Linked DNA regions of Homo sapiens: region 2 is linked to region 1. Evidence: promoter capture Hi-C in human tissues and cell types (Jung and others, 2019). All regions are on one chromosome and are shown on one strand. The core of a region is centred on a gene start or on the middle of the fragment in contact, and the rest is flanking DNA. Distances in the headings are between cores, read along the strand shown. Region 1 holds the start of CNTFR (ciliary neurotrophic factor receptor). Region 2 overlaps DNAI1 (dynein axonemal intermediate chain 1).

Region 1 (5,105 bases), core at 1,104-3,603:
CAGAATCCTACTGTGAGTCTGAGTGTGAGCTCTGAGATCCCAATATGAATCTGAGTGAGTCACAGGACTTCAAGTGAGTCCTACCAAGATCCTGGTATGAGTCTATGTGTGAGCTCCAGGTTACCCATGGAGGTCTAACCCCCAAAGTTCCCATATGAATCTAAGTGTGAACCCAAAGGTCCTAGTGTGAATCTGAGTGAGCTCCAGGGTCCCCGTGTGAGTCAATGTGATCCCCAGCTTGGAAATGTGAATCTGACTATGAACCCCAGTGTCCTCAGCGAGTCCTTGAGTTCAAATGTGAGCCCCATGTTCCCCATGCGAGTCTGACTAACTCGGAGTCCCAGAATATAAGTGTGAATCGGAGTGAGCATGAGGGTCTTTGTGTGAGCCCCAGTGTGAGCCCTAGGACCCCAGTGAGATTCTGGGTGTGAGCTCTAGGTCTCAATGTAGATCTAAGCTAAAGGGTAAGACCGTGAATCTAAGCATGAGCCTACAGTCCCAGTGTGGGTCCCAGTGTGAGCAGAGTTCCAATGTGAGTCTATGTGGAAACTCCAGGACTGAAGTGTATCCCTGGATATGAGCCCCACAACGTAAGTGTCAGTCCATATGAATGTAAGCCCCTAGACCCTAGAAGGAGCTGAAGTGTCCCAGTGTGCATCTGAGTATGGATTCCAGAGCCCCCAGAAGTCCTGTGCATGAACTTTAAACTCCTAGTCTTTGTGTAGGCTCAGGGTCTCAGTTGGAGTATCAGCCCTGACAGTGTGAACCTTAGCTCTATCTCACCAATGCTGACCAGGAGCCCCTGGCACCAGCTGAGAGGATTTGTGTGGGTTGTGACAGTGGAGACAGAGAGGCATAGTTTGAGACACCTAGGCCCTTCTAGCCCCCAAGTCATTGCTAGCCCTACATCCCTGGGAATCTGCAATGGTTCAAGCCCCATTCCCACACGTGTAATGACACACCATCACACCCAGAGTTAGATACACAAAAATACACCTGGTGTTTCAGGCCCCTCGGACACACAGCAATTACAGATGCACAGACACACCCAGCATTTCACACTCGCACCACCTCAGTGACCACAGCCACACAAACACTCCCAGTGACACAGACACAAATTCACCAAGTATTACAGGCAGAACAACTAGTGTTAGAGACACACTCCTACAGCGGCATGCAGACACACACCCAATGTTGCAGACAAGCTGCCAGGCACACAGACACACACAGACGCTTCTCAAAAAGAGAGACTAGACGGAAAGAAAGAAAATCCTGAATTTTCAACAAGGCGTGAAATAGTCCTGCCCGCCTGAAGCTACTGGAGGGGGGAGGGGGACAAGGGAGCGAGCAAGCGAGCGAGCTAACGCTGGAGGAGAGGCTCGGGAGAGGAGAGGAGCCGAGAGGGAGAGCTGTCCGTCTGGTGACCTCCCCACGGCCCAGCCCCCACGCACGCGGAGATACACTACTCGGAGCAACACAGGGACACCCAGACTGGCTCACACTGAGCCGCACTGGAGGAGACACACACGAGCAGACTCACAAAGAGACACTTGGGGATACACCATAGGCAGACTCGCACAAGCCAGGAAGACTTACAAAGAGACACACTGGAGGAGACCCACTACATGGAGATACATCCAGGCGGACTGAAGAGAAAACCATGGGGACGCCGACCGACACACACATGCACACACACACGCGCGCGCGGGCGCGCGGATTCACACGGACACACATGCACTGGCAGACGCGCAACCGTCGGTTCGCATCCCCGGGCGCTTTGAAGTCCAGATTTCTGCCCGAGAAAGAAGCCACCTTTGGGCGCGCAAAGGCCACTACGAACCTCCCCAAACCCAGGAATTTTTCCAGACCCCGCGCGTGCAGCTGAGGGGTGGGGAGAACAGGGACACTAGGACAAACCGCCGGAGCCACCTCCCTCTAGTCCACAGTCGGCCCCACCACCACCACCACGCCCAACCCCCGGAGCGCCCGGACGTGGGGGGCCGCTCCTCCAGCGCCCCCGCCCCCGAGTTTGCAGGCAAAGTTTCTCGTGAACTTTCCTGTCGCCCCCGTCCGTGGGCCCACGGGTGTCCCCTCACTCTTCCCGCACGCATGAGGGCCGCCGGTCTGCTGGTCAGCCCGGGCTCTGAGGGTCCGGCCGCGCGCACTCCGCCGCAGGGTACTCACCGCGCCCTCGGGCCACCCGGGCTTCGCGCCGCGCCTTCCGACCGCCCCCGGCAGCGAGCGAGGCAGGGAGCGCGGAGCTAGCACCGCCCGCCGGATCCCACCGCCGAGCCTCGCGCCGCGCCGGCTGGAGCCGCCGCCTCCGCTGCCGCCGCCGCCGCCGCCCGCTCTGCACCGGCTCTTCAGCGCTCGGCGGCTTTAACCCCCCCATCCTCCTCCCTCCCTCGCGCGCTCCCTCCCTCCTTCTCTCGCCCATGTGACCGCGGGCGCCCGCTCGGCCGCGCGCGCCCTCGCTCCCCTCCCCCTCTTGCCTTGTCTCCCCGCGCCTCCGCGGCCGCGCGCCACGACCCCTCCCCGCCACGGGCCCCGCGCGCCCCCGCCTTGGCACGCTCTCGCTCCTGGCACACGCGGTCCGCTCGCCCTGCGCGGGCCTGTGAGCCCCCACTCCCACTCGCCCAGCACTGGCACGCGCTCTGCCCCCCCGCTGGCACACTCGTCCGCACTGGCACGCGTGGCCCCCTCGCGTTCACCCTTTCTCGGGCGCGCCCTCAAGACGGCTGTGGTCCCCGTGCTTCACGCGCAGCCCCGGCCGCGGGTCTCGCAAACGCGCGCGCGCACACACACACACACACACACCCACTCGGCCCGCTCCCCTAGGGCGGCTGGGCGCGCACTCACCCCCGGGATCGCTCCTTCACACTCACTCTCCCTCTCGGCCTTAGCCAGGTCTCTCCTGCGCACACTCCCGCACGTTCAGGCCCTGACGGCCTCGCACCGACTCCCTGGCACACCCCGGGCCAACTCTCGGGGTCCTCCCTCCGGCGTCGCCGTGAGAGGAACGCGAGCCAGAACCCCCAACCCCCACTTTGGGCAGAAGAAGCCAGCCGGCTCCGCCTCTCCCCTATTGCTACTGCCCCCCGCAACGACTCCCCTCCCGGTCACCCCCTCGCGCGGGGGAAAGGGGCTTCCTTGACCGGGGATGGACCCTGCCGGGAGCCCAGGCCCATGCCTCCAGTGTCTCCGATGACACCAACACCACTACTCGCATGTTCCTCGCGCCCCGAGGACACACAGCCGGGGGAGAAGCCTCCACTGGAATGAAGGGGTAGGGAGGGTGCACTCTCAATGCCGGGCACAGGCGCACCCCTCGATAGGAGGCTCACTCCCTTCGCAGCCTGGGCCTCTGAGGGGCCGGGGTGTTCACTGCACTCGTCCCTGGGCCTCCGGTCTGGCTGCAACATAGGAGAGTAAGGTTGGACAACCTGACCAACTTCTGAGGCCACGTGAAAGCGCAATGGAGTGGCAATGGCAGAGGCAGAGACCGAGAAAGCCACCCCCGTCTCCACCCCTTGGATTTGTCACCTGACCCTTGACCCATAATCCTGGGCCCTGCCCCTCCGGGGAGCTGCTCTAGGGCTGAGGGCGAGGAGAAGGGAGGGAAATGTCTCCATGTTTCCTCACATCCTTCCCCAGTAGGCTGCCTAGAGCGCCCGGGCCCTTTCCCAACAAATGCCTCAGGGACTCCCACTGCAGAGGAAAATCCTTCTTCCCGCCACGGCCTGGGCTTTTCACTTTCACTTCCGTGGCCACAGAATCCCCTTCCTACAACTGGCAGGGGTCGGCATGGGCTGGAGCTCAGAGACGGCCAGCTAGGACTTCAGGACACACAGCAAACTAGCTGCGCCCCGCTGAGGGTCAGCGCACAGCCGCCCACACAAGGTGTCCTCTCCCCGGGCTCTCTGGGCCGCCGGCCTCCTGCTTCCCGTGCCGCAGACCGGGATTAGACTGTGGACGCGGGGAAGGAAGGGGGCGTTGCGACGGGATCTTGAGGGGAGCAGGACTTGCCCCTGCCCCTGCGGCGAAGCTCTAGGCCCTGGCAAGGTTCGGTACACCGGGGGCCGCTCCTCCCCAGGGGGCTGACCGGCCTCGGCGCTCTAATCCGGCCGGGGAGGGGCGGACGGGGTGAAAATTGGCGAGTGGTTTGGGGAACGGACTTGACCTCCAGATGCCCTGGTGTCCCTGGCTCAGCCTCTTTCTGCCAGGTTGGGAGCAGTCGGGAATTCTGTCCCGGTCCAACGTCCCCCTCGGCCCCCGGGGACGCAGAGGCTGCTGTCGGCAGAGCAGCAGTCCACGGCTGCGGGGACAAGATCCGCACTGGGAGTCCGGGGTCCTGGAAGTGGACGTGTGGATGTCAGACGATAAAGGAAGGGAAGAGGCGCACGTCGGACCTCTGTCCAGGCGTCAGTCGGTCAGCAGCTCCTCCCGGCGCGGGACCCAGCGGCCTCGAGCGCTTCCCCGGGGCCGAAGCGACACCTGGCGGACGGTGCGGGACGTGCGTTCCCTTCTGGCTGCTGCTCCTGCTCCGCGCTGAGGCCTCGGCCACCTACTGAACACCGGGGGCTGCCACCTCTCCACACAGCCGCCACCCGGCTCACAACCAATTTTCCTCCCCCCAGAGCTGGGTCAACAGACTAGTAGTGGTTTCCGCTCCTGCCGCCTCTGATGCCCTACCTACACAGTAGCCTTTGAGCTTGTAAGCCTCAGTGCTGAGCCCTCCCCACCGCCTTGGGGGCAAAGTTGAGTTTCTTAGGTGGGGCTTCAAAGCCCTGCAGGATCTGGCCCTGCCTCCTCTCCACCTTTATTAAGCGCCCCTATTCCCGGCCTCCCCAGCTCTGCGCCAGCCCCCTTCTGTGTCATGTCACTTATCCTTAAGCCAAACCCCACTTCACTGACATCCTCTCCCCAACTCCATCTCCAAGAATTCACTGCCTTTCCAATCTTCACCATCTACCTTGCCCATGATGGAGTGGCTGGAAGTAACACCCCCAGGCCAGATCCCTTGTGCCCTGCACGTGATGGGGATCTCACATTTGCGCCTGGGGAAATATGGGAAGTTCCTCGTTGACTTTCAGTTCCTGGAGTTC
Region 2 (5,105 bases), core at 667-3,166, 120 kb before region 1:
AACAGAATGTAGGGGAAGTTGATGTGTTTCTGTATGTCCAAAGTAAGATAGCTTCACTCCTGTGACCTCAGTGTCATTCTTACACATATATTCCTTAAGCCCTAGATATGATCTTTTACTCCCTTACCTCTTAAATATCTCTCAAATTAAACTACTTTTTTTCATATACACTGCCACCTCCCTAGCCCAGCTTACAATCGTCTCTCACCAAAGAGTGCTGTAAAAGCCTAGTAACTAGTCTTCCCTCATTCACTCGTGCCCTTTCCAGTCCATTCTCTACACTGCATGAAAAGTGATCTTTTCAAACTGTCAATCTGATTGTGCCATCCCCCACTCAGAACACTTCAGTGACTTCCCATTGCTCTTAGGATAGGGACCAGATTTTTAGACAATCGCTCCAGAGACCTGAATGGGCCTGAGACCTACCTGGGTCTCTATACCTTAATTTGTACCACTCTTCTCCATTATTGCTGTACCTTAGTTCTATGTGCTGCCCCCTTTCTGGAATGCTTTTCACACCCTCCCTCACACATGTACTCACTCCTAAGATTTCAGCCCCCAAATCAATCCCCACAACCTGCCCCCAATGCCCCCTGCCCCGTTATGGAAGGTAGGGTAAGTTTCCTCTGTTATATAGTCTCATTGCTCTGTGTTCCTTTCTTCCATAGCATGCATCACGGTTTGTAATTATTCACTTATTTGTGTAATTATTTGATTATTGTATGTCTCCCCCATTAGACTGTGAGCTCCTTGGGAGCAGGGCCTGTGGATGTTTTTGCTTATATCTGTATTCTCAGCCCCTAAAACAGTGGCCATGATGACGTCAGAAGCTCTTGATGAATGTTGAATGAGTGATCAACTGTGGTTGGGGAAGTAGCACAGGGTTCTATGGAAGCATGTGGTAGGGGGTCTTCATTCTGATTCTGGGGGAATTAGGGAAGACTTCTGGGGGGACCACCAGTATTTAAGGTTTGGATAGAAGAAGAAGAGTCCAAAATGGAGAATAAGAAGGAGTAATCAGAGAAGTAAGAAGACAACAAGGAAAAATAATATCCCAGAAGCCAAAGGAAGAATGTGTTTCAGTGAAACTGTATGGTCAGCCAAGTTGCATGTTGCTAAGGTGTCAATGAAGATAAACACTAAGATATAACTATTAGATTTAATAACTTGGAAGTTATTGGGGACCTTGGAAAGGACAATTTCAGAGTGAAAAGCTAAACTGAATTGAGCTAAGAAGGCAGTAAGAACTATGTAGGCAAAGATTGTTTTTTTAAGATGACAGACTTGAATATATTAAATGCTGAGGGGAAGGATCCTGAACGGAGAGAGAAGTTGAAGATAAAGGAGAAAGATTAAATAATGACTAGAGCCAAGTCTCTGAGGAGATGATGTTGTGGACAGGAGGAGGCACACTTTGTAACAGGACAGGAGAAGGGATGGATGCAGTTGATGATAATTTTGAGGTTTAGCAGCAGAAAGCTGAGACAGTTTTTTCTTCTTTTCCCCTAGTTGTGTTAATGGAATTCCTTCTGGAAGTGATAACTAGAAAACAATTTTTGCCAATGGCAGTTCCATTTTGTTATGATTATAGTCATGCTATTTTCAGAGTTATGGTCTGAGGTTTGTCATGCACAATTATCAGATTACAAAACAGCTGTGAGCATTTGAGGCCAGAATTTGTTTTCCTCCCCTGTGTACTAGGGGGCCTAGCACATTGTTAGCACTCAGTACATGCCAGGTACTCAAATAATAATGGCAGAGGGCTCCTGTGCTCGTTGCTGGGCTTTGCAGCCTGCAAGTTGATGCTGAGGAGTAATGTTGACTCTCTGGCTCCAGCTGTGAGCAAGCCACATGAAATTGTTTTCTGCCAGTTAGGAATTTGTATCAAGTGTTCAATCTTTGCAGTCACTGAGCACTGACAGAGTTGTATGCAAGAAGCAAGCAAAGGACACAGCTGTTGTAACTTTAGTTTCACTGGTTTGAGTCTCACAACGCTTTGTCCTACTCATAGAGTCACTGGATTCTGGTTTGTATGGTGGATTTATGTCCTCCATTTATCTCACCTCCTAGATTGAGAACCCTGGGTGTGAGAACCAACTCAATCTTGGTTCCTCTTTAGCCGTCATCCGAGGACCTGGCACATAGTAGATGCTTAATAAATGCTGAATGAATGAATAATGACTGAATGAGTTAGTTGATGAGTGAATAAATGAGTGATGGGAAGGTATGTACTGCACTACTCTGAACACTAACTTTTCTTTCTTGGCCTGCAGAAGAAGCAATTCATGCCTCCTTTATCCTAGTTAAAGCAGCCTAATCCTATTAATTATGTAGGGACCCTACCCCTAATGTTAAGCTTATTTTTCTACTTTTATTCTTACATCACATCCATTTGCTCATTTACTTATTTTCTCAATGTGTCATGTATTCAGCCTCAAATCTTATTTGGGAACAAACTGGAGTGTATATGGACAAAATAATCTGCTGCTCCTTGGAGAGTCATCTGCTTCTGTGCCTCTGTGTCTTTGTTAATTATTTTGTTCCCTCTGCATGGAATGCCCAAGTCTTCTCTTCTCTTTCTGCCCTTTACAGACCTGGCAAACTCTAAGACACATTACTTTAGTTAAGCTCTTTAAGTTACAAAGAACAGAGGCTCACTCAAGTTACCTCAGATAAAAGAGGATGAGAGAAGGGAGAAGGTATATATGTGGGGAGTTACAGATGGTTATTATAAGTACATAGATAACCTAGAATTGAAATTGGAAAACAATTAATTCTGAAACAGGTATAGGGACCAACTACTTTCTCCACATCTCTCACAGCCTCTCTATTTCTCTTAACAACTATGTTTCATTCTTATTCTTATTTCCCAACTGGCCAGATTTCCATGGTCTCCGCTCCCTCATAATTTTAGTCTGTTTCCAGCTTATCATAACTGTTCTGACCTCTCTACCTCACAAACATTTCCATGAATATCTCCATCCAACTGCTGGTTCTCCCTGTAGTCCTAGTTCAAATTCTTAAGGAGGGAATCTGATTGACCCTAGCTCATCTGTTCATGCTAGGCAATGTCAGCAAGGGACAAGATCCTATGGCTCTTTAAGCAACCAAAGCTAGAAGGAGGTATTCTCTTTGCTCAGCTCCTCCAGTGGAAGATATAACTCGCTTTACTCTAAAGTAACTTCCATATTGTTTCTGGTAAATCTCTTTCTCATGAATTGTGCGGGAAGGGGCCTCAGGGGCCTCAGATTTCTTCTAGTCCAATGCTTTCATTCAGGGCTGATATTTACATTACAAAAGGTCCTGTCCTTTACAAAAGCCTTTACTATAGGGTTTTAAAAATAGCACATTTCTGCAATGAATTTTAAAATACAGCACACAGGCCAGGCATGATGGCTCATGGCTGTAATCCTAGCACTTTGGGAGGCTGAGGCAGGAGGATCACTTGAGCCTAGGAGTTTGAGACCAGCCTGGACAACACAGCAAGACCCCATCTCTACACAAATACACACACACACACACACACACACACACACACACACACACACCACAAATTAGCCAGGTTGCATGCACCTGTAGTCCCAGCTACTCAGGAGGCTGAGGCGGGAGGATCCCTTGAGCCCAAGAGTTCAAGACTCCAGTGAGCTATGATTGTTACCACTGCACTCCAGCATGGGCAACAGAGTGAGAACCTGTCTCTAAAATAAATAAATAAATAAAATGCAGTATATATATAACCTTAAAGACCTTGATTTAGGGGATTTATATTCTGGCCATGGTGCAGAAATCTACACTGGACTTTCCCTCACACTGTAAACAGCAGTAAGCCTGGACACAATATATGACACTAATGTTTTTCGGTATTGGACAATAGACAACATAGGACAGTGATTCCTGAGGGAAGGAAAACACTCAACGTGAGTCACACATTTACCCTTGCTCTCTGCCTAAGGACAATTTCTTGATCATGGCTCAGAGAGGTAGATCCAAAGGAGAGCATGATAGTACCAGGGAGTAACACAGATGTTGGAATTAGCAGGCAATGTCTTTAAAGCAGCTGTTATAAATATATTTATGGACATAAAGGAAATATTGTTTTAATGGATGCACGGATGGAGAATCTAAGCAGAAAAATGGAAACAGTAGAAAAATACAATATCAGAAATAAAAAATTCGTTGGATAGGCCTAACAGCTGAATGTGAAGATGGATCCATGGAAATTATTTAATCTGAAGAACAGAGAGGAAGAAGGCTTTTTTTTTTTTGAGATGGCGTCTCGCTCTGTCTGCCAGGCTGGAATGCAGTGGCGCGATCTCGGCTCACTGCAAGCTCCTCCTTCCAGGTTCACGCCATTCTCCTGCCTCAGCCTCCCGAGTAGCTGGGACTAAGGCGCCCGCCACCACGCCTGGCTAATTTTTTTTTTTTTTTGTATTTTTAGTAGAGACGGGGTTTCACCATGTTAGCCAGGATGGTCTCGATCTCCTAACCTCCTGATCCACCAGTCTTGGCCTCCCAAAGTGCTGGGATTACAGGCGTGAGCCACCACGCCCGGCCAAGAAGGTTTTGTTTTGTTTTGTTTTGTTTTGTTTTTCTTGTAAAAAGAGAGCCTGGCTGGGCATGGTGGCTCATACCTATAATCCCAGCACTTTGGGAGGATGAGACGGGAGGATCACTTGAGCCCAGAAGTTTGAGACCAACCTGGGCAACATAAAAAAAACCTCGTCTCTACAAAAAATTTAAAAATTAGCCAGGCGTGGTGGTATGCCCCTGTGGTCCCTCTATGTGGGAGGCTGAAGTGGAAGGATAGCTTGAACCCAGGAGATCAAGGCTGCAGTGAGCTGCGGCTGTGCCACTGCAAAGCAGTCTGGGTGACAGAGTGAGACCCTGTCTCAAAAAAAAAAAGAGAAAAGAAAAAGAAAAAACAGGTGCCCTGTTACTGAGGCTCCACTAAAAAATAATAATAATAAAAGAGAGGGCCTTTGTGAGCTATGGAATATATTATATATGTATTTGGAACATGGGTGTAGTTGGAATGCCAGAGGGAAAAAGAGGAAGAAAAAATATTTGAAGAAATAATGGTCAAAAGTTTTCTGAACTTGGTGGAA

What was found. Contacts are between HindIII fragments. The study calls those that stand out against the background at their distance.
Region 2: a contact is called between a fragment that was not itself captured here and the fragment with the promoter of CNTFR in region 1, in 2 of the 25 tissues and cell types used here (dorsolateral prefrontal cortex and mesenchymal stem cells).

What each region holds. Positions count from the first base shown.
Region 1 is chr9:34,587,371-34,592,475 of GRCh38, forward strand. It overlaps CNTFR (ciliary neurotrophic factor receptor), which reads right to left and starts at 2,354. Exons shown (of 10, transcript NM_147164.3): 1 at 2,185-2,354. The HindIII fragment of the contact is 8,661 bases long and covers 1-3,435 here.
Region 2 is chr9:34,463,935-34,469,039 of GRCh38, forward strand. All of the region lies in intron 1 of DNAI1 (dynein axonemal intermediate chain 1), which reads left to right. Among named protein-coding and RNA genes, the nearest start is that of DNAI1, 7.7 kb to the left of the region's middle. The HindIII fragment of the contact is 7,861 bases long and covers 1-5,105 here.